Regions from separate parts of the Homo sapiens genome. Here regions 2, 3, 4, 5, 6 and 7 are each linked to region 1. The links are contacts of gene promoters, found by promoter capture Hi-C in human tissues and cell types (Jung and others, 2019). All regions are on one chromosome and are shown on one strand. Each heading gives the region's core, a stretch centred on a gene start or on the middle of the fragment in contact. The rest is flanking DNA. Distances are from core to core; before and after follow the strand shown. Region 1 holds the start of NR2F1 (nuclear receptor subfamily 2 group F member 1). Region 2 overlaps MCTP1 (multiple C2 and transmembrane domain containing 1). Region 3 overlaps LOC105379080 (a long non-coding RNA gene). Region 4 overlaps LOC105379080 (a long non-coding RNA gene). Region 5 has its middle 430 kb from the start of LINC02058. Region 6 overlaps SLF1 (SMC5/6 complex localization factor 1). Region 7 has its middle 400 kb from the start of LINC02058.

What was found. The method cuts DNA at HindIII sites, captures the fragments that hold promoters and counts their contacts. A contact is called where the count stands out against the background at its distance.
Region 2: a fragment that was not itself captured here is called in contact with the fragment with the promoter of NR2F1 in region 1 in 1 of the 25 tissues and cell types used here (H1 embryonic stem cells).
Region 3: a fragment that was not itself captured here is called in contact with the fragment with the promoter of NR2F1 in region 1 in 1 of the 25 tissues and cell types used here (dorsolateral prefrontal cortex).
Region 4: a contact is called between a fragment that was not itself captured here and the fragment with the promoter of NR2F1 in region 1, in 1 of the 25 tissues and cell types used here (bladder).
Region 5: a fragment that was not itself captured here is called in contact with the fragment with the promoter of NR2F1 in region 1 in 1 of the 25 tissues and cell types used here (lymphoblastoid cells).
Region 6: a fragment that was not itself captured here is called in contact with the fragment with the promoter of NR2F1 in region 1 in 1 of the 25 tissues and cell types used here (spleen).
Region 7: a fragment that was not itself captured here is called in contact with the fragment with the promoter of NR2F1 in region 1 in 1 of the 25 tissues and cell types used here (IMR-90 fibroblasts).

What each region holds. Positions count from the first base shown.
Region 1 is chr5:93,580,992-93,585,207 of GRCh38, reverse strand. NR2F1 (nuclear receptor subfamily 2 group F member 1) reads right to left here and starts at 1,986. Exons shown (of 3, transcript NM_005654.6): 1 at 1-1,986. The coding sequence starts at 184. It overlaps NR2F1-AS1 (NR2F1 regulatory antisense RNA 1), which reads left to right and starts at 3,989. Exons shown (of 8, transcript NR_186187.1): 1 at 3,989-4,066. RefSeq lists silencers at 857-936, 3,544-3,593 and an enhancer at 3,714-3,813. The HindIII fragment of the contact is 15,492 bases long and covers 1-4,216 here.
Region 2 is chr5:94,908,242-94,912,457 of GRCh38, reverse strand. It overlaps MCTP1 (multiple C2 and transmembrane domain containing 1), which reads left to right. Exons shown (of 23, transcript NM_024717.7): 10 at 3,077-3,207. Among named protein-coding and RNA genes, the nearest start is that of MCTP1-AS1, 68 kb to the left of the region's middle. The HindIII fragment of the contact is 6,734 bases long and covers 1-4,216 here.
Region 3 is chr5:92,451,530-92,455,745 of GRCh38, reverse strand. All of the region lies in intron 3 of LOC105379080 (a long non-coding RNA gene), which reads right to left. Among named protein-coding and RNA genes, the nearest start is that of LINC02058, 490 kb to the left of the region's middle. The HindIII fragment of the contact is 3,748 bases long and covers 564-4,216 here.
Region 4 is chr5:92,476,658-92,480,873 of GRCh38, reverse strand. All of the region lies in intron 3 of LOC105379080 (a long non-coding RNA gene), which reads right to left. Among named protein-coding and RNA genes, the nearest start is that of LINC02058, 460 kb to the left of the region's middle. The HindIII fragment of the contact is 9,659 bases long and covers 1-4,216 here.
Region 5 is chr5:92,503,346-92,507,561 of GRCh38, reverse strand. No RefSeq gene overlaps it. Among named protein-coding and RNA genes, the nearest start is that of LINC02058, 430 kb to the left of the region's middle. The HindIII fragment of the contact is 5,640 bases long and covers 1-4,216 here.
Region 6 is chr5:94,649,811-94,654,026 of GRCh38, reverse strand. SLF1 (SMC5/6 complex localization factor 1) reads right to left here. Exons shown (of 21, transcript NM_032290.4): 7 at 2,182-2,325; 8 at 606-755. Among named protein-coding and RNA genes, the nearest start is that of SLF1, 33 kb to the right of the region's middle. The HindIII fragment of the contact is 5,285 bases long and covers 185-4,216 here.
Region 7 is chr5:92,536,666-92,540,881 of GRCh38, reverse strand. No RefSeq gene overlaps it. Among named protein-coding and RNA genes, the nearest start is that of LINC02058, 400 kb to the left of the region's middle. The HindIII fragment of the contact is 8,533 bases long and covers 1-4,216 here.

The DNA of each region.
Region 1 (4,216 bases), core at 737-3,236:
CGGGCGCTCCGGGCTGGCCCGGGGTCTGCGGCGTGTGCGGCGCGCCCGAGCCCGCCTGCTGCTGCTGCTCGCCGGCGCCGCCGCCGCCGCCGCGGGCCGCCTGCGCTGCGGGGTTGGGGCCGCCGGGGTTGCCCCCGGCCACGTCGTCCTGCGGATCTCGCCAGCTGCTAACTACCATTGCCATATCTTTGGGCCCGGGGAGCGCTGGGGGGAGCCGAGCTGCTCGCCGAGGGCCGCGGGGCGCGCGGGCGCGCTGGGAGGGGAAGGGGAAGGGGAAGGGGGGAGGGGGAGGGGGCGGGGGGCCCGCCGGGCGCCCCGGGGTCGCAGGAGCCGAGCCCGAGCCGGACACCGGCCGCTGCCTCCGCCGCCGCCGCCGCTGCCGCCGCTACTGCCTCGGCCGCCCCGCTGCTGCTGCGCGCCCGCCCGCCCTGCTGGCGTTTTGTTGTGGTTCCTGCTGTTTTCTTTCTCTCTTTTTGCAGCCCCCCCAGGCTCTCAGGCTCCCCCCCCAACACCCCTGCTCCCCTCGCCCGCTCCCCCCGCGCTCCGTTCCTGGGGGGGCCGCGCTCTCCTTCCCCCCTCCCCACCCCCCGGCGAGCAAGCTCCCTTCTCTCGCTTTTTTCTTCTTCCCCAAGTTGCAAAATCAGAAATGGCACAGGCGGCAGCCGGGAGCGGCGCGGGGCGCAGCGCCGGGGGCGGCGGGCATGGGCCACGGCGCGCGCACACACTCGCCCTCCGCCTCGCCCGCACCCCCGCGCACACACACACTCGCACACACAGTCGCTCACCCGCGCCGGGCGCCCGCCCGCCGGCCGCTCGGGCTACGCGCAGCGCGCGGGCTGAGCCGACATAGAGGAAGCCGGCGAGGGCGGAGGCGGCGGCGGCGGCGGAGGAGGAGGAGGTCGCGGCTGCAGGCGCCGCTGGAGCTGCCGCCGGAGCTGCTGCGGCGAGCGCCGCTGGAGGAGCCGGGACCCGGGCCGGAGTCCGAGCAGGAGTCGGGGCCGCAGCCGGAGCGCGAGCGGAGGCCGGGGCCGCCCGCGGCGCCGCCGCTGTCCCGGCGGGAGCCCTCGCCGGGCTCGGGAGTGCGGGGAGCGCGGTGAGCCGAGCAGGGCGCTGGGCGAGGCTGCCGCCGGCGATCAGGGCGCGCGGGTGTCGGGGGGCCAGGTCCAGGGCCGGACGCAGCCAGCCATTCAGGAAGGCAGCGCTGGAGAGCGGGAGGCAGCCGGCGAGGAAGATCACACACTTTGCTCTTTTTGTTGTGCCGGTGGCGCCGGGCTCTCGCTGCCTTCTTCTTTCGGGAGGTGACGGAAGGGGGAGAAAAATACGGGATAATTCACGCCGGCGACGAAATCACAGCGAAATAGAAAAAATAAAAATCAGAAGAAAATAATTGCCAAAAAAAGGAAAAAGGAAAAGCGAGAGAGACATCCAAAGTAGGTCGAATAAATAATCCTCTTCTTTTCCTCTTTCTTGCTCCTTCTTCTGCTTCTTCTGCTATAACACACAGAGCTAGTTAAAAAAACCCTGGAGATCGCCCAAAAATGTTCTTTTTTTAGTATTTTAAATAAGTGCTCTTCAGCCGGCAACCAACACCCTCCCTCCAAAAAAAATCATATATGTATAAAATAACGATAAGAAGAATACGAAGGGGGTGCCTCCTCCTCCTCCTCCTCCTTTTTTTTTTCTTTAAGTTTAGCCCTCTCTCTTCTGCAGGAATGGAGTAAAAGAGACAAGGAGGAGGGAGAAAAAGGAGAGAAAGGAGAAGAAGAAGGGGAAAACAACTAGTAGAATATGTAAGAAAAGAGAAAGAGAAGAGAGGTTCAGAGAAGAGAGGAGAGAGAGAGGAGAGGAGGGAGAGAGGGGGGAGAAAGAGGAGAGAGAGAGAGGAGAGAGAGAGAGAGAGAGAAGAGAAGAAGAGAGAGAGAGAGAGAGAGAGAGACCCAAAAATTGAATGCGTTTAAACGGGAGGACTCGCAGAGCAATGTTTCCGAAAGGGGGATCTGCGCGAATGTCTGTATATAGTGAACTTTGACACTACTATTGAAACTGACACGTTTCTATGGAGATCGCTGCCTTATATGGAGCTCGTGTCAAGGAGCCAAGAGAAGGGCTGCTGGCAACTGATAATCAAAGGCGACTGACTGGTCAGAGCCCTGAATCGGGGGGAGAGAAAATGGGAGGCTAAGGTTAGCCAAGCCTCCTGCACGCCATTGGTTGGAGAGCCCCTCCCCCCTCCTCTTTTGCTTTCTTTCTCCCCCCCCCGCTTAGCTACCTACAGACTGGGATGGTGTGGGGAGGAGGAGAGAAAGTGAGGGAGGGGGGTGTGTTTCTGACAAGCGCAATTTACATTGAGATCGCCCTGCGCTGCTATTTACTCTGAGACCTGATTAGTATGGGTCGTCTATGGTCACACACACACACACATACACACACACACACTTACGCTCACACCCCAGAGGGGGAAGGGATGACGAGGGGGAGAACGCCTAGCGATGGGCAAAAGGAGAATTAGAGGGAAATTATTTTGATTTCTTCTGAAAAGTTTTTAAAATTAGATTTTATGAGCGTGAAGAGAGTGTCATTGAAAATGTTTGGAAAAATTTTTAATGGGAATGAAACCCCCACCATTTTAATGATTTGTGAAATATACTGGATTTGGATTGTTTTCTTCTCTCACATATAAGCACAATCCAAGTCTGGATTCTGCTCATTTTATATCCTTTTTAGAAACAAGTAGAAACAGGGTAGGATCTCCCTATTTTTTAATCCAAAGTATACCTTGGTTTAAAAGGTTTAATGATGACAAAGCACACTCCTGGAATTTGCAGCTATTGCCACAAATTCGATCGGAATCAAGGGTTCCTATTTATCCCAAAGATGATTTTAAAAATAAACTTTCCAATCAATCCAATTTTTCCTTCTTCTTTTTTTTTTTTTTTATCACCTGGCTGTTCCAAACTCCAACAATGCTTCAATCATTATTAATAAAACAGTAGTAAGTCCCCATATTGTTGCAGGGTGGGGGGAGATTAGTGTGGCCAAGTCAGTCCCGGGAAAAGAGCAAACAAACGAGAAGATGGAGAGGGGGGGAGGCGGAGAGGGAGAGAGAAAAGGGGGAGGAGGAGAGAGAGAGACAGAGAGAGAGGAGAGGAAAGGAAAGAGAGGAGAGAGGAGAGCGCGCGAGATATTGAGAGAGAGAGAGAGAGAAGAGAGGAGAGGGGAGAGAGAGAGAGAGGAGAGAGAGAGAGACCCAGAGAGAGAGGAGAGAGAGAGAGACCCAGAGAGAGAGAGAGAGAGAGAGACCCAGAGAGAGAGAGAGAGACCGAGAGAGAGAGGAGAGAGGAGAGAGAGAGAGAGGAGAGAGAGAGAGAGAGGAGAGAGAGAGAGAGAGAGACGAGAGGGAGAGGGAGAGGGAGAGGGAGAGGGAGAGGGAGAGGGAGAGGGAGAGAGGAGAGGGAGAGGGAGAGGGAGAGGGGGAGAGAGAGAGAGAGAGAGAGAGAGAGAGAGAGAGAGAGAGAGAGAGAGAGAGAGAGAGAGAGAGACCGAGACCCCGATTCCTGAATCCTGAAGGTGATTGGTCGCGGGAGGAGGGGCAGGCGGGAGGAGCGGGTCCCGCGGCGGGGCTTGCAGGAATCGCTGGCTCCGGCTGCCACCTAGCGGACGGGAGCCGCTCCCGGGCGGCACACAGCCGAGTCCCTCCTCCCCTCCCCGCAGGCAGCCTGTGCCTTTTCTCCAAACGAAGACAGCACTTTGAAAATTCTTTCAATGGATTTTTTTTTCCTTGAAAGATCGTACTGGGGGAAAATGATACTTCTATTAGTTACATATTCTCCAATCGCATACTCGCACCCCCCTCGTTTTGAGATCGCTCCCCTAGGCAGGCTCAGGCGGGCGCGGAGCCGCGCGGAGTGACAAAGCCGCCGCTGCCGCCGCCGGGGGTGGGAGCCGCGCTCGCCCGCCCGCCCCTCGACTCGCGAGGGCGTAAAAGTTTGTCTCAGCTCGAGCATTCCTAGCGCCAACACGCCCTCAGGTAAAGGTGGAAGTAAATGGCCACGCTGTATTGACAGAGGTAGGGTTTGTTTTTTAATACTCGTTCTCACTTTAAGTCTCACCAGGGAGGGGTTTGGGAAGCACTGCGTGTTTGGGGGACGTTTTGCGCTTCCTGGTCTCTCCAGCCTACAAGTCGGGAGTCGGCGACCGCTTAGTGACGAGCGATGAT
Region 2 (4,216 bases), core at 547-3,046, 1.3 Mb before region 1:
TTTTTTTTTTTTTTTTTTTTTTTTTTTTTGATGGAGTCTCACTCTGTCACCAGGCTGGAGTGTGGAGTGCAGTGGCATGATCTTGGCTCACTGCAACCTCCGACTCCCGGGTTCAAGCAATTCTCCTCTCTCAGCCTCCCGAGTAGCTGGGACTACAGGTGCATACCACCATGCCCAGCTAATTTTTGTATTTTTAGTAGAGACGTGGTTTCACCATGTTAGCCAGGATGGTCTCGATCTCCTGACCTGATGATCCACCCACTTTGGCCTCCCAAGAGTGTAGCTTTTAACATTATTACAACTAGTGCTAATATCAGTATTATAAATAGCATTATTTTACATGCCATAAAAATCTTTGTATGTTACTCTTATACACTTTATCCAACCTGACTTGTACCAATGCAAATAGCAAATTTTAAAATTTATTAGAACAAGTTACTTTGTCTCTCCATATCTTAGTTTTCCCATCTGTAAAAATGAGAGTTAAAATAATGCCTACCTAACAAATTTACTAAGATTAAATGAATATATGTTACGCATTTAAAGGGCTTAGAATACTGCCTTGTCCATAATCACTCAGCAAACAAAAATAGCAGAAGAGGAAGAGTAACAACAGTAGTAAGAAGTATATCGTATAGTATCAATTATAGTAGTAGTAATAATGTATTAAACAATAATATTAGTAATATAAGTAATAATGAATAAGGGTCTAGTAGTCATAACTATATTTTTGGCACATGTCTTATGTATTAGTTCATTCTCACACTTCTATAAAGAACTACCTCAGACTGGGTAACTTATGAAGAAAAGAGGTTTAACTGACTCCCAGTTCTGCAAGCTGTACAGGAAGCATGGCTGGGAGGCCTCAGGAAACTTACAATCATGGCAGAAGGCAAAGTGGAATCAAGCATGTCTTTCTATGGCAGAGCGAGAGAGAGTGAAAAGGGAAGTGCCACACACTTTTAAACAACCAGATGTTGTGAGAATGCATTCACTATCATAAGAACAGCAAGGGGGATGTCCGCCCCCATGATTCAATCATCTCCCACTAGGCCCCTCCTCCAACATGTGGGGAGTACAATATGACATGAGATTTCGGTGGATACACAGAGCCAAACCATATCATCTTATCTCTGTTGTAATGAACTATGTCCTCTTTATTGGTCAGTTTTTACAGATGTTATTCATAGACAGCTTAGGACAACTGATCATATCCGTCTTGTATTAAAGATCACATTCCATTCTGATGGGCATTTATTCACCTTAGTGTCATAATCTCTATAGATTTTTGATAAACAGCCTGCTTAGGTCCCTTCCAGCCCAGGAAGTTTTCACTAGTACTTAAGGTAGTTAAAAATATCAGAGAGCCCATCATTAGCAGGCAGTGAGTATTGCTAGCAGGCTGATTGGAGTGTCCACATAGAAAGGGAAGGCATTATTTCTGACCTGAAGGAAATAATATAGGGAAGGCAATCCTAGAAAAGAAAACTGAAAATTTAGTCTGTTTAAGGCCAGATAAGTAAAGACAGACCACACCCCAAAATACCACAGAAGTTCATCTGAGCCTGATTATAAGACATTTAAATTATCATAGCCTTCATTCAGTGCCATTTTTTTTCTGCCATGGGGCTTATATTAAAGTAGCTATAATATATAACATATATTAAAGTAGCTACTGATTCCAAAAATAGGTACCTATGACCACTTCTATCTTCTCCTTTCTTAGTTAGCACCATTTCCGTGTTCTAGTTAGGCTAAAAACATTACTTATTTTTATAGTTCTGCTCTTTAGGTATGAAATATGAAACCCAGCAATGGACATGTGTCTCTCTTTGCTCTTTCTTTCCTTGATCTATCGCTGATTAATTTCAGATTATGAACTTTAAAAATTGTGATTCATTTGCATTACCTTTGCATATAACATACTTCATTGCTTTCAAACTTTACATCTGAAGATCTGTCTGCCATACATTAAAAAGAGAAAAGGCCACTGCATGCCTTCCTGCTAAAAAGAAAGAACAAGGAAACAAATATAAATGTTGTTTAACCCAATGGTGAATGGAATTTTAAAATTCCATTCCTATCAATATAGGTTACTTTGCTCATTGATTCTACCATACAGGATGACTTATCTGAATACTTGAAGTTACAGAATTACATTTCAGATATCTTTCTTGTATATGCAACACAAAGAGTATATCCACATATGTGTATATATACATACATACATATATGTATACACATATATGTATATATACATATATGTATGCACACATACATATATGTATACATGCATATACATATGTATATACTCATACATATATACATGTATACATACATATATACTCATATATTCATTTATTATTTCACAGACATTTTTGGCATATGGTTTTGGGGGAAGAGTCCCGAAGCTTTAATCAAAGACTTTGAGTTAGTGTCTAGATACTAAAACATACTGACCGTAGGTGTGTCACTTAAACTCTAGGTCTCAGCTTATCCATCTATAACATGAGATACTACATCAGTGCTATAAGTCTAAGATAAAAGTTTGCCTGACTACCCAAAAGCTACTTGCGTTTTTCTCCTGCTCTCACAGAAATTCATTGTCTGTTTTTCATGTACTCAAGTCAGGATTCCAATGTGTATGGCAAGTAAGAAAAAAACAAACTCTGAAAATCCTCATTCTCCTTTATTTTGAGATGACTGACTGGCTATGAGTTATATCTTAATGCATTAACTATGATTATGTAAAATATTGCTAGTATCCGAGTGAGCTATTTCTTTCATAGATTATTACCTCTTCTATATAATTTATATATCTTATCTGTTATTTAAAATAATCAAAGAATGTCTTGTGATTTTCAGGACACATCCATTGAGGTCCATTCATGTACTATTCAGTAAAGATGCTGGAGATCTAATGAGTTATTTCCATTATTTCTGTAATCTTTTTTTCAAATAGCACACAGCGTGCTTTTCTAGATACTATAGTACCAAAAGTTTGATTTAGTGTCTCAGGTTGAAGTTTTTTTTAAAAAGCTGCTAGCAATATGACAATTATGATTTTTTTTTCCAGATTATGCCAAAAACGTTGAATCCTCAGTGGAGGGAACAATTTGATTTTCACCTTTATGAAGAAAGAGGAGGAGTCATTGATATCACTGCATGGGACAAAGATGCTGGGAAAAGGGATGATTTCATTGGCAGGTTTGTGCAATTTGTAATTTTTGGTTCACTCCTAGAGCATTTTTATTAAAAGAATATTTGCTGTAAGCCTGGTTATTGTAAATGATCTTTACTGTTTTGAAGAAAGGGACTTTACCATGGTAAGGCAATGCTTGGATGAACTGAAAAATAGATTCAAAAACTGACCAGTAGGTGGCGGTTTTGACCAGTTGATGGACACAGGCTATCTGAATTTGATATCCATGAATTTTCTCCAGATGTCAAAGTTATGGGAGTTGAGAAAGAGGAATTTCATCTGATATAAGATACATAAAGGAACAAAGACCATATTCATAGTCTGTAAAGTGATCTAAGATAATATTTATTTTCATAAAGCATACTATCACCGTAAAATGCATTATTTTCTACAACGCCCTACAAGGTAGAGAATGCTTGTAATCTCCTTGGAGTTCATAAATCTGTAAAGAGTTCCCAAGTATTAGTGTAGGAAGCATGTAAGTGAGGCAGATCCATGTTAATCTGATAGCACAGTAAAGAAAGGAGTATTCTGAGGCTTACATGACATTTTTCACAAAGTTAAGGTTATTTTGAGTGACTACTTGAATCATATGTTTTCTTAATTTAAAGCCTATGTTTATATTTTTTGATAGTTATATATGTGTCTTTGTAGCAAAACACATTGAAACCTGCCAATATTGAAATAAAGTGTGGTGTACTGAAGAATTTGTTAATTTTTTAAATTAAAAAAAAATTCTTTCCTCACTGTAGCTTACATGAAATTCCAAGTCTTTAAACATACAGCTTGAAGAAAATTTATACATACTAAGAGTAAAATAAATTATACTCCAGAAAAGTAAGAACAGGAATCCAATCCAACATATTTATCTCTTGATTTTTTTTATGATGCAGTTATATATATATCATTTTCTTCATAGGATTATATAGTGAGAGGTCAAAGATGAGCTTCAGGTAGCCTTTACTATTTTACTTGTAAAGTGAGCTTGGAAAACACCACCGTAATCTAATACTA
Region 3 (4,216 bases), core at 1,188-3,687, 1.1 Mb after region 1:
TTGTATAGACATTACCTAGAATTAATAAGGCTAAAAAGATTTTCTTTGGAGGGATGTCCATGTTGCACTATTCAGTGATAAATGAGCAGAAGTTTATAAGCTCAGGTAGAATAACATAGTGGCTTTTTAGATTCTAACATCCCCCAATTTTCCTCTAAGTTATTTGTAAATAAGGGACATACACACTCAAGACCAGAAAAATTAGCTCCAGATGCCGGTCAGAAGTAGAGGGCTTGGGAAATGCATGGGACCAGAGATAGTGGCCCTGAAAAGTCAGTGCTTCCATGGAATAAAGACACCTATGAAAATGAAGGGGTCCTTAGTGTCTTGAAGGGTGAAAGAAAATAAAAGGACAACTGAAGAGGATAGTTCTATTGAGACAAGACAAAAACAAAGAATTAGAAGATGTTAAACAAAATAAAGTGTCACGTATTTAAAACAAACAAACGAATACACACACACAAAGCTGTCATTTATAGACATAGTAGAGGAAGGAGTCCTTTAAATCAACCACCAAGAAAACCACCTCCTCAGTGTCAGTTCCTCAAAAGTATATGCTGCAATTGCTGGTACAGGAAAATCCACACCAAACAAATCTGACAAAGAAAAGTAAAACCCATCAAAGCAAAACCCAGACGCCACATAAAGATACTCTGAAAATAAATTTAAAAAAAGCTCTTTGCCAGGTGAAACACATCAGTTAAGGCAGGTCAAGAAGCAGAGGAAAAGCAAAACAGAAAACTAAGGTTGAAATTAAGGAAAATTAAACAAAAAATTGCAAATGTGACATAACCAGGTGAATCAGAAATTTTAAAAGTGAAAGCAAATGAACAAAGTGAAATGATATAAAATGTAACTAACTGATCTAAAAGAATATCTCAGAATGTAGCTCAGAAATGACAGAATTATTAGTTACCTACAAAAGAATAATACAAATGAAAATACAGTGAGAAATACACAGAGAATAAATGAGAAACCACAAGAAAATAAAATAGTAGCACTAATAATAATAATACTACTAAACAGAATCAGTGAGAAGGTAATAGATGTAGAAGATAGCAAAGAAGATCCAGCATAAGATTTGTTGTATCTGAAGCAGAAAAACAACCAATGGAACCAAATTAATATTTCAAATTAGAGTTAAAACATGTATTAAATAAGAATACAATATGAAGATTCAAATTTTCCCACTATGTACCTGAGAATATTAAAATAATTTTTTTTTTTTTGAGACAGGGTCTTCCTTTGTCATCCAGGCTGAAATGCAGTGGCAGGTGCATAGCTCAATTGAGGGATTGAGGCTGCAGTGAGCCATGAGCCTGCCACTGCACTCCAGCCTGGGTGGCACATCAGCCTCCCAAAGTGCTGGGATTATAAGTGTGAGCCGCCGCGTTTGGTGACTGAAACAGAATTTTTTACTCTGAGACATGTCATTACTAAGCTTTCATCCCTTCCTTCAGGATAAAGACTAAATCACTTATTTTACATTCCAATTGCTCACTGCTGATATATACAATAGCAATTTAATTACGTATATTAACCTTGTATCCTGTGATCTTGCTATACTCACTTATTAGTTACAAGAGGGATTTTTGGGTCAATTCTTTGGAATTTTCTACATATACATGATGTCATCTATGAATAAAGACTGTTTCATTCTTTATTCCTAATCTTTAAAATGTTTATTTCCTTTACTTATCTATCTTACTAGCTAAGACTTCCTATACAATATTGCTTAAAGGTGATGAGAGATAACATCCCTGTATTTCTCCCAGTCCTGGAAAGAAAGTGTCCTGTGTGGCAACCAGGAGGCACAGTTGAACAGTTGATATGGGGTTAAATTGAGATATACTGAAAGTAGAAAATACATACCAAATTTCAAAGACTTGGTATGAAAAAAAGAAAATAAAAAATATCATGTATAACTTTTTATAACGATTACACGTTGAAATTATATATTAACATAATTTTAGTTGTTAGTTTTTAATGTAGGCTAGTTAACACTTAACATTATATATGTATAACATTATATAATGGCCAGGCACAGTGGTTCATACCTGTAATTCTGGCACTTTGGGAGGCCGAGGTGGGCGGATCACTTGAGACTAGGAGTCTGAGACCAGCCTGGGCAACATGGGAAAACCCCATCTCTACTAAAATTACAAAAATTAGCTGGATGTGGTGGTGCATGCCTGTGGTCCCAGCTACTCGGGAGGCTGGGGCAGGAGGATCACTTGAGCCCAGGAGTTCAAGGCTGCAGTGAGCTGTGATTACACCACCCCACTCCAGTCTGGGCAAAAGAGCAAGACCCTGTCTCAAAGAGAAAAGAAAAGAAAAGGAAATCAAACCAAAAACATAGAGATGTGGCTCTCATTTTATTTTTAGTGGTCAGTGCTGCATCCTACTTCCTGGAAAGTTGATGTGATAGCTCATTTTGGCCTATGAGGACAAAAGTCATATCTTAAGCTTGGATGAACGATGAGCTAGAAGGACATTTGTGCTAACACTTTGAGGAATGGTGCCTTACTGGACTTGCATGAATAAAACTAAAATTCAATTCTATTTGTGTCACATTTATTTTCAACTTTCTGTCATAGAAATATCTCATTTTTATAATTGTGTGTGAATGAATGTATGTGTATATAGGTAGGTAAGTAAAATATATTCACCAAAATCCCATGTTGGTGAAGTGAGCTTTCCTTTTGGGTATTCATGCTTTTTAAAAAAATATGAGCATCAATTCATTTGTTAAAAATGAAGGTCTGAATAGCAATACAAAATCTTAAAAGTTTTGTAAATAACCTCAAAACAATGGGCTCTCCAATTTATTTTAAAACTGAGAACTGTTTAATTACCCGTGATTTAAATGTCATCCTTGACAAACTGAGAGCAGTGTTGATAGCAGGATGGAATGAAATAACAGAACTGTGAAGGTATTTTCGGTATTTATTATAATTCTGACTCAGTTTTCGTTGAACGGATTCCTTTTTAAAAGATTCGAAATCACTTAAAACACTATAATGCTATTTTAACAGTGTTTTCTTAAAGTAGTCTGATAGACAGAAGAGGTCACTATCAAAACTCTACACTGAAACTCATAATGTTAAAAATAAAGGATCTATTATATTTTTTTTCTTAGGGAGAAAAGCCTCTAAAAAGTCACATCAGTATTAATAAAATGTCTAGCATTCAAAAGCCATGCTATATTGAACAATTAATGGGTGTTTATAAAATTTCATGTTTGGAGAAAGTTTGCTTTTTCTGCATGGTAAAATTTATGACCAGATATGTTCAGCACTATAATAAACCTGCTTTAAAATTCCTGCAGAAAATTGACATTCAACCATGTTCTAACAGTTCAGATACTGGCAAGGTCTACAAAGATGCCACTGAAAAATATATATAGTGCATAATTTTCATTTCTTTGCTGTCAGGGTAACATGTGTGCTTCATATGCTTTAGTGAAGTCTAGCAGTACAAATGTGTCAAAAAATCATAAAAATTTGTCTTCTATGACTAACATATAGGATTTAGGACCCTAGTCTTTTGGATATTTATCTCTAAGTAGGAAAAGAAGAATTTATTCTTGGACAAACATATATACTTTATGTTTAACACATTTTCCCTGTGGGATTTAATGAAACAACTTTAGCAGAAGTCACCATGCTCCTTGTCGAGTTTCTTCCCCCATTGCTGTAATAGCCTAAAAAATAGCATAGGACTTTATGTTCAAGGATTTCAAAAATGGTATCCAACAAAAATAAAAAAGGTATTAATTAAACTTATGACCCAGGAAAGGAAATTATCTTCTACTAAATTTGCTTTATAACTCTATTAAGTTGTTTGCCATAGAAGATAAATAAGATGAATTATTGTATTAGTCTGAATTCTTTTACTGCAAGTGGCAGAAACCAAACCCCATTTAGTTGAAGTAAAAATTTAGTAACTCCCATAAATGGGAAGTTGCAGATGGAGGTTGGTATGAGATAGAGCAGATAGGACAAGAGTTCTGTCATTTATTCCTGTGGTTGCTCTGCTTATTTTTTCTTGTCTGTGCTGGACTTTATTTTTCCGGCTCATTTTCTCCACATGGTAGGCAAAATGACCATGGCCATGAAGTGCCACCAGCCTCGAAAGTCCAGTAGAAAGAGTCTATAACTAATAAAATATATGGTCTCATTTGTTCGCTGAAATATGAAGGAATCTGCTATCTCGG
Region 4 (4,216 bases), core at 508-3,007, 1.1 Mb after region 1:
TTATTCTTTCAGCATTAAGTGTCATGTTATCTGTGGATTTTTCATAAATGCCCTGTATAATGTTGAGATGGTGTCTTCTATTCCTAGTTTATGGAGTGTTTTTTGTTTATCACAACATGGTGTTGAATTTCTTACATGACTTTTTTGCATCAATTAAAATGATCATATGTTTTCTTGTCCTATTAATGTGCTGTATTAAATTAATTGATTGTCATATGTTGATCTAGTCTTCCATTCTTGAATAAATCTCACTTAGTCCTGGTTTATAATTCTTTTAGCATGCTTTTGAAATTGAATTGCTAGTATTTTATTGAGAATTTTTGTGTCTATATTAATAAGGATTTTTTTTTGGTAAATTTTTTTCTTCTGTTGTCTTTATGTGGTTTTAGTATCAGGGTAATGCTGGCCTCACAGAATGAGTTAGGAAGTGTTTTCTCCTCTTCCATTTACTGGAAGAGTTTGAGAAGAATTGCTATTAATTCTTCTTTAAATGCTAGATATAACGTACCAGAGAAGTTATCTGGTCCTGGGCTTTTCTTTGTTGAGAGTTTTTTGATTACTGATTCAATCACTTTGCTCGTTCTAGATCTGTTAAGATTTCCTGCTTTTTCTTGAGTTAGTTTAGGTAATTTGTGTATTCCTAGGAATCTGTGTATTTTATCTTGGTTACCTAACTTTTTGGCATATAGTTGTTCATAGTATTCTATTATAACTCCTTTTGTTTCTCTAAGATCAGTAGTAATGTCACCACTTTCATTTCTGATTTTAGTTATTATCATCTTCTATCTGGTTTTGTTGGTCTAGTTAGATGTTTGTCAGTATTTTGTACCTTTTCAAAAAAATATCTTTTGATTTCACTGCTATTTTGTGATCAAAGAAAATACTTTCCATGAGTTTAGTGTTTTTAAATTTATTAAGATTCATTTTGTGGTCTAATGTATTGTCATTTCTGGAGAGTGTTACATGTACACTTGAGGAAAAATCATGCCCTACTATTGCTAGTTGGAGTACTGTATATGTGTCTGCTATGTCTTGTTGGTTTATCATGTTGTTCAAGTACTCTATTTTCTTATTGATTTCCTGTCTACAGTTTTCCATTATTAAGAGTGATGTATTCAAGTCTCCAAATATTAGTGTAGACTGTCTGTTTCAGTCTTCGATTCTATTAATTTTTGTTTCATTTATTTTGAGGTCTTGTTTGGTACATATGTTTGCAGCTTTTGTATCTTTTTGATGAATTGACTTTTTTATCAGTATATGTATTTTACCCTTACGCAACAGAGGTTTGAACTGCACAGATACACTTACACATTTTTTTTTGCCTCTGTCACAACTGAGACAGCAAGATCAACCCCTCCTCTTTCTTCTCTTCAGCCTACCCAATGTGAAGACAGTGAGGATGAAGACATTTATGATGATCCACTTCAACTTAATGAAGAGCAAATATATTTTCTCCTTCTTATGAGTTTCTTATAACATTCTTTTCTCTAGCATACTGTATTGTAAGAAAGCAACATAGAATAAGTTAACATATAAAGTAAGTGTTACCAACAGTAGGCTGTAGTAGTTTAATTACTGGGGAGTCAAAAGTTATATTTAAATTTACAACTGTATAAGGATTAATTCCTCCATCTCCAGTGTTGTTTGAGGGCCAATTATAATGTCCTTCTTTGTTTCCTGTAACAGGTTTTACGTTAAAATATATCTTGTCTGATTTTAATATAGTCACTCAAACTCTCTTATGGCTACCATTTGCATCCAACATTTTTTTCCATCCTTTTGGTTTCAACCTGTTTGTGTCTTGGATTGAAAGTGAGTTGCTTGTGGACATCATATAGTTCAATCATATTTAAAAACTTCATGCTGTCAATCTCTGCTTTTTGACTGGACAGTTTAATCCATGTACATTTAATTTAATTTAATTACTAATAAAGACTTACTTAGCTGAAGTCAGGGAAAGAAAACAAAATTACAAAAACAAATAAGCAAATAATTTAACTGGTAGATGAAGATCAGAATCTGTTTTCTAAAAATAAATTTGAGCAAATCAGTTTCTACAATATGTGTGAATACATTTAATATTCCAATTTTTAAAAATTGAACTTCTCAGATGAGATATAAAATACACAATAAACAGCAATCATGTTGGTTTCCCATTACTGCTATAATGAATTACCACAAACATAGTGTCTTAAGACAATACAAATTTATTAGCTTATAATCCTACAGGTCATAAGGCTAACACGAGTCGCATGGCTCATCATACAGCCTTGTTTCTTTTGGAGGCTCCAGAGGTGAAGTTATTTTCTTGCCTTTTCTGGCTTATAGAGGCTTTCAATATTCCTTGGCTTATGGCCCATTCATTCATCTCAAAAGTCAAAAATGGTGAGTTAAGTCCTTCTCATGTTGCATCTCTCTGATCCTTCTTCTACCACTCTATACCACTCTCTGGCCACAGCCAGGAAAGTTTCTCTGCTTTTAAGAAATTGTGTGTTTAACTTGGACCTAACCTGATAATACATATTAATCATCCTATCTCAAGATCCATAATCTCAACCGTATATTGTTTTGCCAGGTATGGTAGTACATTCATAGGTTTTGGAGATTAGAATATAGAAATATTTGGAGCCATTATTCTGCCTACAACAGTCATATGCTGTATATGAGAGGGTAACTAAAATATATTGACAGAAAATTTGAAGGTAAAGGAATAAAAAAACTCATAGTGTCCCAATACTGGCCAAAATAATATTGGTGTCGATATGACATTATTAGATAAAATATTCTTTCATCTTAAAGCATTATTAAGGAAAAACATATATTTTCTTCATTTGATTGAGGGTACAGTTTAAATAGAAGTCAGTTTCCTCTGCTCACCTGCCTGAGAATGTCCAAGGCCTTACTTCCCATTTTTATATAAATATAAAAGCTCAAATACAAGTCATTGGTGCCATTTTAAGGACCTTATGCTTTTCTGATCAAATTAAAGCTTTACTACACTAGTTTCACTGCTTGGCCTACACATTTGGCCTAAGGAATGCCTAGTTATTGAGATTGTTTTGTTTCTAAAGTGATTTAGGTGTCATTTGCACTGTAATATCAAAATCCTTCAGCATAGGGCCTAGAGAATGCCAATTGCAAATGCGATCAGTGCTACCTCAGAAGGTCATACAACGCAAGGTGAAAAATCTGGGATTTGTTTCAAAACACTAGTTTCATTTAGTAAAGTAATCTTGTGAAAGTTAGTTAATTTCTTTGGAAACTCGCCTTATTTTTCAGTATGGTTAAAATTTGTAATGCAAATCAAGTAACCATCATCAATATTAAAGATGTTAAAGGAAGAGACTATAATGTTAATAATACATGAGATATATCACCTAGTATGGGAATATATGTGGCGCATATTTTAATGGTTAAGAGCATGGCGTCTGGAGCTAGACAGCCTGACTTTTAATCCTTATTCTTCTCCTTAAGCAGTGTGACCTTGGGTAAGTTACTTAACTCTTCTAAACCTCAGTTCCAAACCTATAAAGTGGAGTTAATAGAACATAACTCATAGGATTCTTATAACAATAAGGTATGTTACTATTTGCACAGCACTACTTGCAAAATAAGTACAATATAAATCAATACACTTTTGTACTTTGATCAAAATGCCAGGCAAACAATAAGTCTTTTTTGAGTCCAGTACCTATTACTGCTAAGAACTGTGCTGGCTAAAGTGAATTTTATATATATATATATATATGATATTTCATATAAAACGTGTCCTGAAAATGACATATATACTTTAAGTAGATTAGAAATATTCAGTTTATGCACTGTATAGCCCTAGATAAAATAGAATTCATAAATTTAGAGATTAGCTTAAATTTTATTATTTTATAAGGAGAGAACAATTTAACAGTATGTGGGGTCAGGGGGATGCCAAAGGAAGGATAGATCACTGTAATAAATCTATGGTACATTCCTTTGCTCTTTTAATGTTTCTCAGGTGCTGTAACTGCACAGGTAAAAGGCAAAAAAAAAAAGGGGGGTGCTGTCAGACCCACAATGTATTAATAAGCCACATGTACTTAAAGTAATAGCTGAGGCCTTTTTAGTGTAGGCAGCAATGTATCCTCCAGACTACAAGCAGAAAGTTGAACCTCTTACATTTAGCATACACTTGTAGGCCCAGTACTCTGTACTCAAGAATTTGAGGGATTATATAATA
Region 5 (4,216 bases), core at 525-3,024, 1.1 Mb after region 1:
GGATTGTGTCAAATGGAGTTTGCTCATTTATTGAGATGATTATGTGACTTTGTTTGTTTGCTTGTTTTTGAGACAGTATCTCACTTTTTCACCCAGGCTATAGTGCAGTAATATCATCATGGCTCACTGCAATCTCGACTTCTCCAGCTCAAACAATCCTCCCACCTCAGCCTCCCAAGCAGTTGGGACTACAGGCACGTGTCATTACACCCAGGTAAGTTTTTGTATGTTTTGTAGATATGGGGTTTCATCATGTTGCACAGGCTGGTCTCAAACTTCTTGTTTCAATCAATCTGTGTGCTTTGGCTTCCAAAAGTGCTAGGATTGCAGGCACAAGCCACTGTACCTGACTGATTTTTTATTTTATTCAAGTGATACAATGCATCCCATTAATATAGTTTCAGATTTTGAACCAACCTTGCTTTATCCTGGCCTAAATCCCACTTGATCCTGTTGTGTAATTTTTAAAATATGTTGTTGAAGTCAGTTTTCTAGTATTTTTAATTGTGGTAAAATATATATAACATAAATATTTACATTTTTACCTTTTGTAAGTGTTTGCTCTTTGCATAATATATATTTTCCATATTTTTATTTTAGGTCTATTCTCAATCAAAAGTCTGTCACCTTTAGATAGTATATAATTGAATTTTTTTTATCCAACTTGAAAAGCTCTGCCTCTTCATTACATTGTTTAATATTTTCACATTTAATGTTATAGATATAACTGGACTTATGCCAATTACTCTTTGTTTTCTATATGCTCCAGGGTCCTTTTTGTTCTTTTATTTCTCTTTTATAGCTTTCTTTTGCATTAAGTAAACATTCTTTAAGTAGCATTTAATTTTTTTAAATTTTTTTATGGTTTATATGCTTTTAGCACTTGCTCTAGGGTTTACCATATACATTGAAATTTATCCAAATTAGCTTTAGATTTATCTCAGTTTGATTCTAGTGAGATACAGAATTGTTACTCCTATACAGCTCTATTCCCTGCCTCACTTTTTGTAGTATCCTTTTTACACATATTGCACCTGTTAATGTTACAAACTTAACAATACATTATTTTAAGTATTATTTTACCTCTTTTGTAATTTTAGGCCATTAAAACTTTACTCCCTTCCACCTTATTTGTGCTGTTATTGACAAATATAGCACACATGTTATATTTCTATATGCAATAGGCTCAATGTTATGTTGCATTATATACATATCATTTTATACCACTGCTTTTAAAATCAGGTATGAGAAGAAAGGAGGAAAATATGCCACTTTTTAAATAATTACATGATTTTTCTACAATATTCTTTATTTTTTCAAGTTGGACTGAAAATTCCATCTGGTGTAACTTGCTTTCATACTGAAGAACTTCCTTAAGTATTTCATATATGGCTGGTCTGCTAGCAACACATTCTCTAAGATTTTGTTTATCTGTAAAGGTCTTTCTTTCACTTTCACTTTTTGAACAAAAGCTTTCCTGAATAGAGGAGTCCAGGTTGAAACTTTCTTTGAGCATTTTAAATATATCATCCCAATGTCTCTGGTTTCTGTTATTTCTGCCAATAAGTCAGGTGTGTTAATCTTTTTGGAGTTTTCTTGTAAGTGAAGGGACATATTTCCCTTGTTGCTTTCAAATGTAGTCCTTGTCAGAGAGTTTCATTCTTTTTAATATGATTTGTTCATGGGTTACTTTGTGTTTATACTACCTGGAGTTCACTGAGCTTCCTGGATGCCTAGGTTATTGTTTTTCAATAACTTCGAGTAGTTTCAGTAATTTTTTTGAATATTCTTTTTCTTCTGTCTCCTCTCCATGTACGCTTCGTACATGTATGTTTGTGTGATTAATAATGCCTCACATTTCTCTGAGGCTGTATTCATTTTTCTCCATGCTTTTTTTTCTTTTTCTTTTTCAAGTTCCATAATCTATATCCATTTATCTTTGTTTGCTAGTTTTTATTTTGCCTGTTCAATTCTCTGAGGAGCCCCCCAAGTAAATTTTGTATTTCGATTATTATACTTTTTAACTTTGGTATTTTCATTTAGTTCTTTTTATTAATTTCTACTTTTTTGTCGATTTTTTTATTTGGTATAACATTCCAACATACCTTCCTTTACTTCTTTAATTATTTCCACTAGTTTTTGTTTTTTACTGTTAAATATGACATCTGTGTATTATTCCAGGCAGTTTCTGTTTCCTGCTGTTTATCCCAGCGTATGAGTCATGTTTCTCCATTTCTTTGAAGGTTTCATAATTTTTTATTGAAATTGGTCCTTTTAGACACTATATTATAGCAACTCTGAGTACTGGTCCTCCTGTTCCAGTGTTTCTTTGCTTGTATGTTTAATGACTGGATGAATTGTTTTACTGAAGTCTACCCCGTCTCCTTAACTGTGGTAAACCTTTGATGCTGTGACTCAGGGAAGTATAGTTTTGGGCATGCCCACAGTTATCTTGGGATGTCAGTTGTATTGGTAGGGTGCTCTTCCACTCTTTTCTGACCACATCCAGCTATTAAACTCCACTAGTAGCACCTACTGATTGCTCTATTGTTTTCATCAATATCCCGAGGCTTAAATGCCTCCATTAATTCAATCAAACCAATCCAATCAAATTGTGGTCCCTTTGAGTGACTACTTTCTGAGGTTAGTGTTTCATATTTGTTCTGGCCCCAGGAGTGCTCCTCCCAGCTGTCTTATCCTTGGGTTATTTTCTGCAAATTACCACCTTACATTCCAGGCTATATCTTTATTAGATCCATGAATCTTCAAATTGCCTTTCACCACAATGTCCAATATTTTTTAGAGTAGCTTTAGGTTAAAACTTCTCCATACTTTGTTGCAAATAAAGTCAGTTAATTTGGGGACAGATTAGGAGCTATTGTTTTTTTGTTATGCTTCTCCCCCAGGCAAAATCTCTGAGCCCAAGCTCTGAAGCTAGGGGTGGAGACAAAGGCAAGCTTTTTTCTGAGTGACACATCAACTCTGGGAGCTGAGCACCTGGTGGAAGGGGAGGAAATAGTAATGATGTCGTCTTTGCTTGCATTTCCTAACTTGGAAACACATGCTTATGAACAGGAAGAAGAGCTGTCAGAACCCCATTATTCTTAGCATACTGCACCTGCTTAGAACCTACCTTTCATAAATGGTGGGTGGGCACTAGGAGGAAGTCCCCACCTGTGACCACACTCAGCCGCAACAATAGGCAGCTGAGGACAGAATGAAACTGAGAATCCTTTATCCTCCTAGGAAGAGAGCCCTATACTGGGAGCTGATGTTAGAGTAAGTCCTGTGTTCTAATCTGCAACAATCTTCATTCAAATACTGTGGACTGTTATCTCTCTCACTGAATTTTTGTAGATTTTTTTTCACTAGATATTTATTTGCTGTTGCCTTTAGGACTATTTCCAGAAGCTTCATACAATTGCATTGTCTGCATAATTTCCATCAGTTTTATTGAGAAGTGGGTCAGGAGAGCTCTCATGTTGTTAAACCAGAAGTCAGTCCGTTGTTGTTTTAAACTATTCAGTTTGGGGTAGTTTACAGAGACACTGTAGATATTTAACATGGGAAATAACACAATTGGAGGAATAACTTGGTGTCATATGAACAGTGGGGGAAAGTGAGATTACAGAGAGTGGGCAGGTTTTGAGATCCAAAACATAGTTGACAGATTGCGTTATAATATGTGGATGAATAACTATTTTTTCCAGGAACAAATATTGGAAAAATTTGTGACATAGACTTTAAGAATAGGCATATTTTAATTTTTTTATTATGAAATAGGTCCACTGAGAAGAACAGTGGATAAAGTAAGTATCTGAAGTATTTTCTTTGACTAGGGAAACAGAGTTGAAGGGCCTATAAAATTTGGTAACTGAATTTATGGGTGTAGTAACAGTATTCCAAGTGATGTTATTTTCTTCAAAGCAGAAGTATGGGAAATATTTTGGGTTATTCCTGGAATGGGATTTCTCCAAATAGTTATGGTGCAAACATATGAGCACGAGAATTTAGGATATTAATTTAAAAAAACTTAAATCATGAAGTTTGGGATACGATTTTAAAATAAAAATGTGTATTTACAAACAAGAAGAAAGTTGAGGATTGTTGCACTCAGGGTTCCAAGGAAGTCAAAAGAATAGCTGTTGGGGAAGAATGTGAACAAGTGATCTGAAATAAGCAGTTGTTAGATAATTGTTTATTTGGTTGGGTAACA
Region 6 (4,216 bases), core at 1,578-4,077, 1.1 Mb before region 1:
GCTAATTTTTTGTATTTTTGGTAGACATGGGGTTTCACCATGTTGCCCAGTCTGGTCTCCAACTGCAGAGCTCAAGCAATCTGCCCCGTTGGCCTCCCAGAGTGCTGGGATTACAGGTGTGAGCCACCGCATCCAGCCCATGGTATGGTTTAGATCGTTAAAAAAAAAAAAAGTCATACTCCAGAAAAAATTTACCCAAGAAGCATTCAATTTTAAAAACAAGACATCTCATTAAAAATGGTCTGTACTATACAAAAGAGCAAAATAAAATTTACATTAGAAAGTATTACCCAACTATACACACATGTAGTTTTAAAGATTTTTTCATTTTAAGAAATAGTCTTTTCCAGTTTCTTTTTCTTATTCATCACATTCAGGCAAAACAAAATTCACTGAATACCTTGATTATTAACTCAGATTTCTTTGTATATGCATGTACAAGTACATTTACTGTGAACCAAAGTTAACTGGAATATTAACTATGAATATTACACCAGATTGACTCAAGATTTTTTCTTAAAACATGTAGCATTATATATCTAGATTATATCAGAGAACAGCCAAAAAATAAAAAAGAAAGCTATAGCTTAGCTTACAAACTTTACCTGATCTCTATTATATATGTGCCTTCTTAAGGTACTTTTTATTTTTTCATGTTCAACGCCTTTCTTGCAATTGCTTTCTTTTCCTTTCTTGCGTTTTCTCCTCAAAGTATAACTCCTCTGAATATCTTCATCTTTTTTCTTAATTTCCTTCTACATGTATTTAGACCACAATTAAATCTCAACATCAATGACATATGTTACAAAATCCAAATAAACTCAAGAGTGACTTTCATACTTTCATACACATTAAAAAATAAAGAAGTACGGCCGGGCGCGGTGGCTCATGCCTGTAATCTCTGCACTTTGGGAGGCCAAGGCGGGCGGATCACCTGAGGTCGGGAGTTAGAGACCAGCCTGACCAACATGGAGAAATCCCATTTCCACTAAAAATACAAAATTAGCCAGGCGTGGTGGCACATGCCTGTAATCCCAGCTACTTGGGAGGCTGAGGCAGGTGAATCGCTTGAACCTGGAAGGCGGAGGTTGTGGCGAGCTGAGATTGCGCCATTGCACTCCAGCCTGAGCAACTAGAGTGAAACTCCATCTCAAAAAATAGAAATAAAAATAAAGAAGTACGTACAACAGAAAATCTCATCCATTGACAGAGTAGGTGTACATTAGTAAAATATTTTGAAAAAAGTCGGACACTGCCTAGTATAGTTGAACATGCACACTCCTTATGACCCAGCAACTCCATTCCTAGGAATATACCAACTAAGCTAGAGAAATTACTAAATATGTATCCCAAGAGGTATACAAGATAATGTTCATATTATTCATAGCAGAATTGTTCATAATTGCAAAAACTTAACAATCAAACACATAAACCAATAAAAAGAAGCCCAAAGGCTTATCAACAGTAAAATGGATAAAAGATATAATTGTGGCATAGTCAAACAATAAAATTTTATATACATTAGCAAAAGAAGTCTATAAATAACATAAACTATAAAATGTTCATGAATAGACAAAGCTAAACCATATCAGTTAGAGATACACACACAGCTGTTAAAACTATAATGAAAAATAAGAAAATAATTAACACAAATTCTAAGACAAAGATTACTTCTAGGTAAGAGGGAGAAAGGGGATGCATTAGAAAATGATATAGCAGGCTGGGCGCAGTGGCTCACGCCTGTAATCCAAGTACTTTGGGAGGCGGAGGTGGGCAGATTACAAGGTCAAGAGATCAAGACCATCCTGGCCAACATGGTGAAACCCAGTCTCTACTGAAAAAATTACAAAAATTAGCCAGGCGTGGTGGTGTGTGCCTGTAGTCCCAGCTACTTGGGAGGCTGAGGCAGGAGAATTGCTTGAACCCAGGAGGCAGAGGTTGCAGTGAGCTAAGATTGTGCCAGTGCATTCCAGCCTGGTAACAGAGCAAGACTCCATCTCAAAAAAAAAAAAGAAAAAAGAAAATAATACAGCAGGTCTTAAAAACTGGTAATGCTCTATTTCTTAATCTAGCTATTGGATACATAACTCATTTTTATATATTTTTTAAAAGCTAAAGAAAACTGTTCTATAAACACTATATATATTAAAAATAAATTATTTTTAATTTGGAAAGTTGTACCTGATTTTCATATGTATGGCTTCCAAAGGTATTTCTCATTTTAACAAATTTCAAATCTTTACTGGAACCACTGAATTTTTCTTTTTTGTGATGTTGAATCAAAATAGAACCAACATTAACATCTTCATGATTTTGCATTTCTTTCTGCGTGTTTGTAAACATAATTTAGTTAAGACTGTGGATTAAATATAGCCTTAACACAATCAACACAAGTCACAAAAGAAAAACCCATCCAGGAACATAGATTTTGTAAAATATACATACAAGGTTAAATAGAGTAAAGAACCCTCTGAATTATGTAAGATAAAGCAGAACATAATTGTTTTCAGTTCACAAAGCTTTATAGTACGTTAACATATATGCTTTAGTTTACCTATGTGCTGAATTCCGATTAATGAGTATTACAAATCATGTTGTTTAATCATTATACCAAAATAGCTATTTTTAAAAAAGGATATTTCTACTTGAATTTTACATACATAATTTGAGTCCTAAAAAGAACTCAAGAAGACATATATACAGTCATGCACTGCTTAACGATGGGGATATGTTTTGAGAAGTACATCGTTAGTTGATTTCGTCATTGTGCGAACATCAGAGTCTACCTACACAAACCTAGATGGTATAGTCTACTACACACCTAGTCTATATGGTATGGTCTATCGCTCCTAAGTTACAAATCTTTATGACATGTTACAGTATTAAATGCTATAGGCAACTGCAACACAATGCTGAGTATTAGTGTATCTAAACATAGAAAGGATACAGTAAAAATATGGTATTATTATCTTATGGGACTATAAGATACTATCATATATGGGGTCCGTTGTTGACCAAAACATCATTATGTGTACATGACTGTAGATGTATTTTAATGATTTCCATTTATCTTACAAAATTTCTATTTTATTCTTTTGCCATGTTTATTCAAAACTAAATTATTTTAATAACTCCATCTTCATTCTACATTCCTTTCTATATGTAAAAATGCTATACACTGTGGTTTACAATGTATATTTCACAAGAGGCACATCAACTCAAAAAAGCTTCTCATTAAAACATGCACATATAGTAAATTACAAAAAGTAGTCTTCTAAGTCACATAAATATAAATATACACTGGAAAAGTCAGAAAAAAATGCAAAAATATTTTAAGTTTGGAAAGTTCTAGCAAATCTTGCCATATACAATTTCTTAAGGAACTATGTAATCCCAGCACTTTGGGAGGCCGAGGCGGGCGGATCACGAGGTCAGGAGATGGAGACCATCCTGGTTAACATGGTGAAACCCCGTCTCTACTAAGAAAATACAAAAAATTAGCCAGGCGCAATGGCGGGCTCCTGTAGTCCCAGCTACTCGGGAGGCTGAGGCAGGAGAATGGCGTGAACCCAGGAGGCAGAGCTTGCAGTGAGCCGAGATAGTGCCACTGCAGTCCAGCCTGGGCGAAACAGCAAGACTCTGTCTCAAAAAAAAAAAAAAAAAATGTTCCAAATTATTCCTAGAATTACCTTTCAAAAATACTTGACAGATATGGTAAAAACAATTTATTTTGAATTTCTTCTTAGTTATACATAAAACTTTTAGTTTAGACTAATAATTATCAACTTAATAATTTGATAAATTAACCAAATAGACTGCTTTATAAAACACAATATGAAAGTGAACATAACTGAACATTAGCTCTTCTAGAGCAGAACTAATAATGTCCTTTTTGTGGCTGCTACTGCTATTTGAAAAGTTGTACTTGACAGCCACCATACCATATGTGCTTTCTTGAGGTACTTTTTATTGCTCCAAGTTCAAAGTCCTTCCTGTTTTATTGTTTTACAAGTTAATCAAAATAGACTTCATTTGTGTATTTTTAAATTTTATTCTATATAAATACTTGAATTTACATGAATTATATATTGTGCTCTCAGGTAAGAAAAATGCTTTATAAGACACACGATGTTACCTAAACATAAGTAAGTTACCTAAACATGGTAATTACATAAGTAATTACCATGTGTTGAGAACGCACTATGTATAAGGAACT
Region 7 (4,216 bases), core at 474-2,973, 1.0 Mb after region 1:
AAATCTTTATTACTGTAGAATAAGTGTATTGGTTACGTTTTTATTTTCTGTTTAGCTATTTATTTGAGAAATGCAGAAACTGGTAAAGATAATTAGAAGAAAAATAATGTACTATTTTTGTGAAAATGTAGCTTAAAATGAAATTAAAGCACCATATTTGTGATTTGTAACAGAACATTGGATAACTTTCAAAATCACTCAATTCAAGAAGTAACATTCTAAACTGGATTTGAACTAATGACCTAGATATAAAGACTATGTGAGTCACTAATTGTAGCCCTTAGACACCAAGTCCACTAAGGATAAATAGTGTTAATTTATGTGATCTTTAGGACAAGAACACTTAGATAAGGCAATACATTTACCAGTTTAAATTGATACAATCAATTGATTGTATTGATTTTCCAACACATCACATACATTCATTGAAGCTCAGCATGTGTGAGTGTTATATCCACATACATGTATAGTGTATATAATTTTATAAATTCTAATAAATTTTATAAATATAGTCTTTTCAGAAAGAATATAAATTTATTTTTATTAATAAATAATAAATAGTCTACTGTCACAATAACCGTTTTAACAGGATTGTTTAGTTCGAAGCATAAGGTGACGTTAGTAAAGGGCTGGTTTTCTGTAAATATTGGATTTTAGGACTGAATGTGAATAGAATTTGTTGGTATCCAATGACAGTTACAATTATGAGGCATTGCTACAACATGTGGTATGTGAAGTTAGAAAACCTGGCTTTTTAAATACTTGTTAGTTAGAGCAAATCAATTCACTTTATTTAAGTTGCTTTGATGGTAACATTTTTATCAGTTTTAAGGCAGAGGGCTAGACAAAGGACTTTTGAAAGTATATTTCATTTCTAAGATACAAAAGCATATGGTTTCAAATGACATTTCAAAATTAAAATTTGTATCAATCAAGAATTTAACAAAACCAGTTCCAAATAAAATTATATTTGTTTACCATTTTTTCTGAAGTTTAATTTGTATGCTAAAATATATGATGATCAACATTTATTTTATTTTTGACTTCTTTTGTTTAAAGTAAAGGAAACTTTTGCTAGCAGACATTTTATAAAACCATGTACAAATACAGTTTTGAGAACTGGATCAAAACCGATGTCATTAAATTGAAAAATTATTGGTTATTTATGACAGTGCAGAACAGATGCAAAGAGTTAAAACAGGGCTAGAATAAGTGAACATTTCTCAGCCCAGGAAATTTTTAATATTAAAGTCCATTGAAAAAATGGTTTTAAAATGTTTTAAATGATTTAAGTGAAATTCATCCTAGTGGTATGCTGAACTGAGGAGAATATTTTATACAATTGTTGTGCATAGAACTCTAGCCAATAATTTTGAATGTGAACAAATGTTCAGTAAGAGAGAAATAATCCAAACAGTTAAAATAAGAAAAGGGAAAGTGAAGAAATTGATTTACAGATTCAGTTCCTTTCAATAATAGAAAAGTTCAGTTTCTTTCAGTGTCTCAAGAGGGTGGCATGGAGGAAAGGGATAGTAAAGAAGAATCAAGTTTGTATTCATTCTCTTTTGAATTGCATTTGATTTGTTACTATCAATATGAATTTCTTATAATTAATAAAAGGCATATGCTGAGTGATCCAAATGAAACAATGTTCATAATCTAGGGGATTATTCTCTAGGAGAGAGACAGAACTATATGTAAAGGAGATATCTACTATACACCTGGATCAGGATATTCCAGAATGGTTAATTTGATTCAATGAGGCCATTGCATTAGTCAGCTTTGACTGCCATAACAAAATACTGTAGGCTGGGTGGCTTAAACACCAGAAATTTGTTTCTCATAGATCTGGAGGCTGAAAAGTCCAAGATCAAGGTACCATCCAGTTTGGTTCCTGGTGAAGGCCCTCTTCTTGGCTTGCTGTATGCTTAAATGAATATACACACAGACACACACACACGCGCACACACACACAGAGCACTCTTTCTCTTCTTATAAGACCACTAAGCCTATTGAATTAAGATCCCATCCTTATGACTGCATTTAATTCCTCTTCTTATAAGACCGCTGAGCCTATTGAACTAGGATCCCACTCCTATGATTGCATTTAACCTTAATTACCTCCTAAAAGCCCTATATCCAAATATAGACACATTGGGGATTAGGGATGAAACATGAATGTGGGGAGGATACAACTTAGTTCATGAATGGAGATTCTCTTAGACATGAATGGAGATTTTCTTTAGCTTTAGCTTTGTTCTGAAAGTTGTGCACATAGGGCTTCCATCCTCATGGGTCTAATTAATGTTGTCAGAGAATATTCATAACCTAGGAGTTACTGCTTCTGCTGCTCAATGCTAAGGCAGCTGGGTACTTGATGAAGTTGGTGTGACATTCTCTACAGGTAAGAACCAATGTTGTAAATAATTAAAGTTTCTAATCCAGCAAGCATGATTTGGGTTACAGAAAAAAATAAAACACCTTGATTCAGAAATTCAAATACTAAGAAGAGAAAAAAAAATCCAAAACAACAACAACAAAACTGAAAGAAATAAAATATTATTAATGGACTCGGGAGAAAAAAAAACAGAAAAATAATATAGGAAATGAAAGCTAAATTACATGGGGCCCAAGGATGAAGAAATACAAACAAGAAGTTAGTAAGATGCTTAGAGGAAAAGAGGAGAAACAACAGATAGAATGACAATGAGATGAAGAATAAAGAAGGCACCAAAATGAAAGGAAGACCCTAAAGAAGAAAAAAAAAGTAACTAATTTAATATTTAAACCATAATCCAAGAAAACTTTCAGGGAATTAAAGATAGGACATTACATATTGAAAAGGCCCAGATATTTCCTGAGAACACAGTCACACAGTTATCAATTCTGGGCTACACTCTAGTACATTTTTTAGATTTTAAAGATGAAGTAGAAAATCCTCAGGGCCTCCATACAAAGAAGCAAATAATTTACAAGGACCAAAAATCAGACTGGCAGCACCATTCTATTCAAAAGCAGCATACAAATCAATATAAAAATGAATCAGCATTGAAACACAAATCAAAATAAGGATAAATCAGTATAGAGGAAGCAGAGGAGAAGGAGGAGGAAGAAGAGAAAGCAGAGGAGGAAGGGGAGAGTGGGAAGGAAAGAAACAAAAAATCAGTGTCAACTAAGAATTTTATTTTTATTCAAGCTGTCCCTCTATGAACAAGATTTTAGACAGACAATCATTTTTAAGCATGCATGAACTCAGGAAATATTGTTCCAAAGATTCATCGTGGGAAATTTGTGGGTGTGTGTGTCTGTATCTTAAAGTTAATTTATAATCTTTATTCAATCTTACTATAAACATCAAGTTTTTTTAGCTAGTCAGGATATTAAAATTCACATGGAAAATAAACTTGTAAGACTATCTAGGAAAACACTATCCAATTGAAGCTGTGAGACAGACTGTCTTACAATATATTAAAACATGCTATAAAGCCTCTATAATCAAAATTGTATAATTGTATAGCTCTGCCTTTGAATTCACTGATCCTATTTTCTTTGCCATATCTAATCTTCTGTTATGAAAAGCAAGTAAGTTTTCCCCTCCACTTCAGTTATTATACTTTTTAATTCATTCTAGAATTTTTAGTTTTTCTTTTATAGTTTTGATTTCTCAGAGGAGATTCCTTATTTATTCAGTCATTAATACCATATTTTTCTTTATATACTGTGTGTATATCTATGTATGTATGTATGTATCTATCTATCTATCGATCTATCGTAGCTCTGTGTGTGTGTGTGTGCGTGTGTGTATGAAATAGCTGCTTCGAAGTAATTATCTGTGAAATCTAGTATCTAAACTACCTTGGGTTACTTTCTGTTAAACTTTTTAACTAGAGGTTACATTTTCCTATTTACTTAGATGTTGAATACTTTCAGATTGTATGTTGAACCTTTGGGGTGATACGTGGGATGATGTCTTCAAAGAGTTTTGCTTTGTTGTTTGTTTTCTGATTGACATCTTGCACAGAGATCCAAATTAGTGTGGATCTGTAGAAAGCCCAATGTTTTTCCAGGTTCCTCTCTTGGTGGAGTTCTACTTCCAAATTCTCTCTCCCTTGATGATTTTGTTAAGGCTTAGATTTGGGCTTTGTCAGGGCTAATCTAGTGTAACGTGATATTACTATGAGTGTGGTTCTTATTCCTAATTTAGAGCCTTTTTGGG